Regions from separate parts of the Homo sapiens genome. Here regions 1 and 2 are each linked to region 3. The links are contacts of gene promoters, found by promoter capture Hi-C in blood cells and fetal thymus (Javierre and others, 2016). All regions are on one chromosome and are shown on one strand. The core of a region is centred on a gene start or on the middle of the fragment in contact, and the rest is flanking DNA. Distances in the headings are between cores, read along the strand shown. Region 1 has its middle 110 kb from the start of RDUR. Region 2 has its middle 150 kb from the start of RDUR. Region 3 holds the start of NXPE3 (neurexophilin and PC-esterase domain family member 3).

Region 1 (2,700 bases), core at 154-2,653, 280 kb before region 3:
GATGCTGCCATGCTTCCTGAACAGCCTACGGAACCATGAATCAGTTAAACCCCTTTTCTTTATAAATTATCCAGTATCAGGTATTTCTTCATAGCAATGTGAGAAGAGATGAATACAATATTCAAAAGAATTGAAAGCATAGACATGAAAAGATATTGGTACACTCATGTTCATAGCAACATTGTTCACAAGAGCTAAAAGGAAGAAACAACCCAAGTGTCTATTGGGATGAATGGATAAACAAAATGTGGTACACACACACACACACACACAAATATTATTCAGCCTTGAAAAGGAAGGAAATGCTACAACATGAATACATGTTGAGAATGTTGAAGTATGATTCTGTTTGTATAATGTATCTAGAATCATCAGACTCATAGAACTAGAAAGAAGAATGATGGTTGGCAGGGCCTAGGGGGAGGAAAGAATGGAGAGTTGTTTAGTGGGTATAGTGGGTTGTTGTTTAGTGGGTATATTCAGTTTTGCAAGATGAAAAAGTTCTGGAAATTAGTTGCACAACAATGTGAATATATTTAACACCACTGAACTGCACACTTAAAATTCAGATAAGTTTTATGTGTATTTTACCACAATAAACACTTTCAATTAAAAAATACAATACACCTATAATATAAGAGAAATCTCTCTATTGGACATTTGAATATGTGGGCACTAACTCCTTTTGTGTAAGCACATTGGTCTCAATATATCAAAAAGATTTTTTAATAAAAAAGGAAGGAAAAATCAATGGGCATTAGATCGTCTATAATGGGAATACTACAGTAACTTAAAATTCCTCTATATTCTATTCTTCCTCAATTTCTTGAAAAGTTTTTTGGTGATATCAGCAGTCCCTGGGTGATGAGTGAGGGCAGGACACTTTTCATACCTGGGATTCACCCTCTAGTGATTTGACATATCCACCCAGGGTTACTGGCTCACAAGGGTGGGTGCGTCTAACCATCTCTCCAGGAGACAAAATGGTTAAACAAGAGTAAAGGGCAGGTTTCTGGACCTTGAAGCTTTCTTTAAGATTGACCAGTGAACAAGATTTCTTCTCACTCCAGGCAGCAGATCCAGCATAAGGAAAGTTAGAGAGGCATGAGGAAAATACAGTTCAATCCCGACATCGATGAAGACTTCAGTGCTTTAGGTGCATGTGGCTGCTTAGGAGAGATCAGTGGCAGATAAGAATATGCTATTCATTATTTGGGGGGAAATTATTTAATCTCTCTAAGCTCAGCTTTTTTATTGTAAAAAATGGAGATAAAACTACTGACTTCACAGGATTCTTGTGAAGGTTAAATGGGGTTCATTGAAATGTCCTATCATATTGACTCACACATAAAGAGACACATAGTAATAGTTCATTACCAGTCTTAGCTGTAAATCATGAAAGATCTCATGATCTAAAGCAAAGAGTTTGAATTAGTCCTATAAAATATATTTTTTAATCTTTAAAGTTTTTTAAGAGTGATATGATCACATGTATATTTTAGAAAAGAACATTCAGTAATAACATGTTAGAAGTAGACAAGATTGGAGAGCAATAAAGGAAGGAAGAGTAGTTTCAAGGTTAGTGCAAGATTACAGATGACAAAAGAGGAGTGTGTAAGTAGTTACATTGCAATTAGCCAAAACAACCAAATAGTCCCTGTTTATTCTTAGTCAACAGAAATGGAAATGTTCATGTAAGCATGGAAAAGCCTTTTTATTTTCATTCTCTCTGTGTCTCCGAAAAGGAAAGAGGTAACAGTGAAAATAATAAATAAAGCTTTTTTACCCTGGGCCCTACAAACAACCAAAGATTTTTAATGTTATGGGGAGAGCAAGCATTATAAGGAAGAGAGGAAGTTTTCTGCCAGGCCTTTTGATATTATACTCCCCAGAGCTGGAACATACTGGTATCGTAAATGAGTACGATACCAGGTTCTCGAATCATGTTTTTATTCAACACACTTTTGTTATAATATTTATGAGAAAAAGCAAAATCAATTCCTGGCAGGGATCACTGTCTGTGTGGAGTTTGCATGTTCTCGCCAGGCCTGCTTGGGTTTTCTCCAGGTTCTCCGGCTTCCTCCTACATCCCAAAGATGTTAGGTTTATCGGTATATCTAAATTGTCCTAGACTGAGTGAGTGTGGGTGTGGGTATGAGTGTGCCCCGTGATGGGATGGCGTGCGGTCCAGGGCTGGTTCCCACCTTGCCTCCTGAGCTGCCCCATGATAGTCTCCCAGGCCACCTACGACTCTGAACTGGAATAAGTGGGTTGCAAAATAAATAAATGAACACAAGTTATTGCCAAATACAAATTTGTAATGAAATAAAACAATTTTTAAAATTCATAAAATCTATGATAATCATCCAAATGCATGACAATAAATGATGTGGTATGAATATTTGTAATTGTGTTTGAACTGCGTGGTGGGAGGAGGTGCTCTCTACCATTTTTACTTTGCAGACACTTATTCTTTGATTTAACCCACCACCACGAAGACTGCCATCACTCACTGATTCACCAAAAACTGGGTAAATAATTATCTGACTCGTTCTTATTAATCTTTCTTAAATATATGTATATAGCTCACACTTATTTCAATGTTTGATATTAGAAGTGTTTTGGGTCAGAAGTTTGGTAATGTTTTTGTTACCAGAAACATACCATAGGAACTTAACTCTTGTTTAAATCAATTAGCCT
Region 2 (2,700 bases), core at 45-2,544, 310 kb before region 3:
TTATCTCAGGCTCTAAAACATTGTCTGAAGGCATTTTCACAGCTTCATGTCACTAGGCATCTTTTCATCTGGAGTTTAACGGCAGCAACTACAAAAGAAGAATCGATCCCCTCTCTCCTCTCCCAGTGAGCACTTGCCTCTGAGGCTATTCCCTCTCTATACTTACATTTAAAATAAATAGATTCCTATGCAAAAAGTGGTTCGTTCAATGGGGAAGGAAAACCAGGCCCCAGTGTTTGTACTTAACTGGCCCATTAAAACCTTAAACTTAGATTTGAATCTAAGTTCATGTGCCATATCAACATAACTTCTGGCACACCTGATGCAGCTCATGGATCTGATAGCTCATAAATTCTCCCCCCACTGAAGTTATGTCCAAAGGCCAAATACAGAAAGACATTTTATTTGTGTGTGAACAGATTATGGCTTTATAAAGCACCAGCTTTGGAGCAGAGCCGTAATTTATGGCATTCAGACAGTACAAACAAGGATAAAGAAATACTATTATTTTCACCATGGAGCATTGAGTAGAAAAGAAATATAAATGTTAACCCATCTGGCATCACTGCATTGCAATATATCTGTTTTATGTTCTGTGTGAGATGAGATTTTTTTAATGCTTTTAAGATATCAAAATAAATTGCACAGACTTGTGATACCTTGGGGGTTCTACCTGGTGGCTGATATGATGGGGTGAACTACACACACAATAAAAGGGTTTATAAAGTTTAGAAATTGCCTAATCCAATATATTGGGAAGAATCAGATAAATGATGCAGGCCAAGAGAAGTTAGGTGTATGAATGCCAGCCCACATAATACAAGGACATTATTCTTGGGTCTAGGTAGACAAAATGTATTAGACTATTTGTAACTTCCATTGTGTTACAGAGATGTGGCCTCTGAATTCCAGAGCAGCTGACCTGTAGTCCCCAAGTCAAAGTAAGCTCTGTCTGAACGAATTCTCTTGAAAAGATTGGTCCTGAGCTTACAGGCCTCTGTTTGTGTGTACATCTAAAAATAACCTGGAGAATTATACTGCTAATAGGAAGGAAGATGCCACACATTTTCTTCTGTTTTTGGCCTTTGCCTGCTTTTCTATAAGATAGCTTGATTTTTATATCAATTCATCATGTCTATTTTATGTTTTGTAGATATTTTTGCCAGTCCATCATTTGTCTTAACTTTGCTTATGGTATCATTTGCTCAATCAGAACTTAAAAAAAAAGCAAAATTTTAATCTAGTCAAGTTTATCCATCTTTATTTATAGTTAAGAATGTCTTCCTCACACATGGTGAAACAAACTTTCTCTGAAATTTCTTTGAATATTTTCACTATGTTTTTTCATTTATGTCTTTAATCAATCTCAGATGGTTTTTTGCATGAGCTGACATAAATAAATTTTCAAAAACATGAAAAGATGCCCCTTGCATCACATCTGACAGGAAAATATAGCAATATGACATACCACTACTTTCAAATCAGAGTGGCAAAAATTGTACAGTAATCTTTGATGGGTAGTGTGTATATAAAAAGGATTCCTGCATACTGTCACTTGGCCTGTGATTTGCTATAGCCTTTTTGAAATGTAATCTGATGACACATTTCATTTGATAATCTAATACTTAAAAATAAAAAAGCACTGATGTATAATATTTAAAAAAGAAGTTCAGTGCATCTCTGTTTATTAACAGTAAAAATCGGCCAGGCACAGTGGCTCATGCCTGTAATCCCAGCACTTTGGGAGACCAAGGTGGGTGGATCGCCCACAGTCAGGAGTTCAAGACCAGCCTGGCCAACATGGCAAAACCCTCATCTCTACTGAAAATACAAAAATTAGTCGGGCTTCGTTGTGCTTACCTGTAATCCCAGCTACTTGAGAGGCTAAGGCAGGAGAATCGCTTGAACTCAGGAGGCAGAGGTTGCAGTGAGCCGAGATTGCACCATTGCACTCCAGCCTGGGTGACAGCAAGACCCCATCACAAAAAAAAAAAAAAAAAACAGTAAAAATTATCCATATGTCTGTCATTAGAAAGACTCCTGCACAGCCAGTTTATTTGGAAGGTGACTCCAAGAGGGGATCATGGGACCAGGGAGAATGAGGCGGGGAAGATTGAAAAGCCCAATTAAAAATGGAAGTTGATCACTCCTGAAAGCAACAGCACTTGATTCTGCCTCCTGAATAACTTACAGAATTGCCCACTGGCGGTCAGGAGGTGGGAGCACAGCCATTAGAGAGAAACTCTAGAGAAAAAAAGCAAAACAACTCAAGACACATACTTGAGTCAAGATGCTGTCAGCACAAGCTGATTCTACATTCACGTGGAACTGTCCCCTTCAAGTGTGGCTGACATCAGAGGTGGCCCAACTGGACATGTCATGAGGCTCCTGGTAGGTGAACGTTTGAATAAATTATGGTATATCAGTCATATAGAAAATTATGCAGCCACTTAAAAATGAGTGAGATACACATATATTGACCTAGAAAGATGTAATAATATATTAGCAAAGTAAACTATGGCACACCCTTTTTGTCATGTTTTCCTTTTTAAAAACTTTTTTAATTTTTGTGGGGACATAGTAGGTGTATATATTTTATCATATTTTCCTTTTTAAAATTAAAAATATACGTGTGTACTTATATATCTTTATATGAATATAGAGGAATGTCTGAAAGGATATATACCAAATTGTTAACAT
Region 3 (2,700 bases), core at 87-2,586:
ACATACAGCCAAGTGGGAGAACCACTAGTATAGAGTGGCCAGGGACTGTTATTCGTTTCAGTTGGTAAAAGGATGGCCTTTCCAAAATGATGTTTGAATTGTAACTTAAATTGTCAGGTCAGGACAACCCAATTCCCAGGCAATGGGGAAGGCTAACCCCACTTCAGTGATTTATCCCTTCGTTTCCTTTCTCAGTAACAAATAACAGCACTCTATTGGCCCCAAAGAGATTGTGAGGATAACAGACATGGAAAAAAAAATACTAAACAAATTCAAAGAAAAGCAGAACCCAAACACTACGGAGAAATAGTATACTGCTGCCTCCAAACAATTATCAGGGTCTGGGAGTCCTGCCAGTTTCAAATATATCCTGATGTTCCAAATGATAATTAACCACAGTGAGGAGCGGGGAGGCCCACCAAAGCAGTGTGATTCTTTATCTTTAGGAAATGTGGCAACAATCCCCCTTTAATGTAAATAATGAAAAGCAAAGAAAATTTACAATTTTGCACAAATGCTGCATAAATCCTGCCTCGGAACCCCTCTTATTACCACCCTAGTGGCCTTTGATCAGGCAGAAATGGGCAACAGGCCAGGGTCTCCATATCACACCTTGTAAAGTTACACTCGTTTCTCCCCATACGACCTGAATCTGATGTCCCCAAACGGCAGCTCAGTAAGGCCAGAACAGTCCACCGTGTGACAGCAGCGCCAGCCAAGAGGCAGCTGGTGCCCAGAGCAGCGATGAGCCGAGAGATATGAGATGGGCAGGGAGGCGTCGCCAAGTGCTCCGCACCGGGTTAGTGAAGGTGCCTGGAGGACAGAAGTCTTTCGCTGCGGCGTGGAGGTCCGAACTGTACCGAGCTGTGGCGTTGCCGCAAGTGGAGGAAACTGAGGATGGAGATGCTCGCTCCCGGCCCCGCCCCGCCCCGCCCCGCCGGTACTAGCCTGGGCTCCGGCTTCTTAGCTGCGACGCTTTGGCAACCCAGGGCTCCAATTCTGCCTATGCCTTCGACCCGGGCCTCCCCTCCCTGGCACCTATGCCCACAGCCACGACTCCAGGGGCTGCACCTATCAGCACGGGGCTGGGGACTCGGGAGCAGATGCGCGCGGAGGGAGGGGCTTCGCAGTCTAGGAGCGCGCTGGCAGAGCCGGGCAATGGGTCGCTCCGCCCGCAGCGGCCCCTCCCGACGTCCGCACACAGACCACATCCAGCACTCACCTCCGGGACCCGCCCGCCCTTCGCTCTCCGGGGGCCAGGGATCCTGACGCCCCGGTCGGTCGCCGCAGCGCCAGGCCGCTAGCCCCCCGCTTCCTCACCCGGCGACGTCTCCTCACCTCCGACCCCCGGCTACGATTGGTGGAGCTTCGGCGGGGGCGGGCCGAGGGCGTTGACTGACAGCAGCACGCGCCGGGCGGAACCCACAGGCCTGGAAGCGAAGTTGGCACCCTGGCGCTCTACGCCGCCAAGCTCCTGCTCGCGACGCGACACTGCAGCTGTCGCCCCGCGGATCGAGGTCTGGCCCCTCTCACGACCCAACTCCTCGTGAACTTCGGACGTCTGAGTTTCCTGGGAGCATCCACCTACCTCAAGGCTTTTCGCTTGTCAGCGAAAGTGCCCACAACCGCAGTTGACTCTAGTAGGGCAGTCTTTCCTGTGGAGTGATGGAATTTATTGTGCCCTGAACCAGAGAAATGCGATTTGCCAAGTATAAGCACGGATATAGCGGATCCTTGAATCTTTTCCTTGCTTTGACATTAGTCAACAACTTCTACTCGCCAGTAAAACAGCCCGTTCCTTTTACTCTCACTGTACATGATGTCGGTCTCTTGGCAAAGCATACTTTCCTCACCCTCCACCATCCCCAATTCTGGGTTATCCTATTTTGGACATTTTTCTAACTGGTAAAACGTCGGTAGCAGTTTTGTGAAATTCAGGAACTGAGAGGAGTCCTGAGAAGACACTTGTTCAAGAAACCAGAAGGAATTGTGGGCTGCACCGTGTTTCTCTGTGCTTGGAGCACAGTGGGGTTAACACAGGCCCCAAAAGCAGGCCTGCCCCCGGACTATTACCCCAAGGTTTAAGAAAAATAATTAATGTACATGACAACTAAGTATTTTTCCATTTCTTGACCATAATGGACTCTGCATGCTCATTCAGATGTTTTCATGGCAGGCCTGCTTCGTGGGCAACCAGATCCGTGAATGGGATAAAAGGAAGTTCTGCCACAGGGTGGAAGATCTCTTCTGTAGTAATGATCTTCTTTTTTTTTTTTTTAATATACTTTAAGTTCTAGGGTACATGTGCACAACGTGCAGGTTTGTTACATATGTATACATGTGCCATGTTGGTATGCTGCACCCATTAACTCGTCATTTACATTAAGTATATCTCCTAATGCTATCCCTCCCCCCTCCCCCTACCCCACAACATGCCCAGGTGTGTGATGTTCCCCTTCCTGTGTCCAAGTGTTCATTTATGCAGCCAACAAACACATGAAAAAATGCTCATCAGCACTGGCCATCAGAGAAATGCAAATCAAAACCACAATGAGATACCATCTCACACCAGTTAGAATGGCGATCATTAAAAAGTCAGGAAACAACAGGTGGTGGAGAGGATGTGGAGAAGTAGGAACACGTTTACACTGTTGGTGGGACTGTAAACTAGTTCAACCATTGTAGTAATGATCTGATACT

Evidence for each region. The method cuts DNA at HindIII sites, captures the fragments that hold promoters and counts their contacts. A CHiCAGO score of 5 or more calls a contact.
Region 1: a fragment that was not itself captured here is called in contact with the fragment with the promoter of NXPE3 in region 3 in 2 of 17 cell types (non-activated CD4 T cells and naive CD4 T cells); the score reaches 5.7 in non-activated CD4 T cells.
Region 2: a fragment that was not itself captured here is called in contact with the fragment with the promoter of NXPE3 in region 3 in 2 of 17 cell types (non-activated CD4 T cells and naive CD8 T cells); the score reaches 8.2 in non-activated CD4 T cells.

The regions. Positions count from the first base shown.
Region 1 is chr3:102,054,209-102,056,908 of GRCh38, reverse strand. No RefSeq gene overlaps it. Among named protein-coding and RNA genes, the nearest start is that of RDUR, 110 kb to the right of the region's middle. The HindIII fragment of the contact is 752 bases long and covers 1,028-1,779 here.
Region 2 is chr3:102,087,039-102,089,738 of GRCh38, reverse strand. No RefSeq gene overlaps it. Among named protein-coding and RNA genes, the nearest start is that of RDUR, 150 kb to the right of the region's middle. The HindIII fragment of the contact is 7,656 bases long and covers 1-2,700 here.
Region 3 is chr3:101,777,847-101,780,546 of GRCh38, reverse strand. It overlaps NXPE3 (neurexophilin and PC-esterase domain family member 3), which reads right to left and starts at 1,336. Exons shown (of 8, transcript NM_145037.4): 1 at 1,223-1,336. RefSeq lists enhancers at 614-663, 1,228-1,522 and a silencer at 1,074-1,423. The HindIII fragment of the contact is 3,350 bases long and covers 1-2,700 here.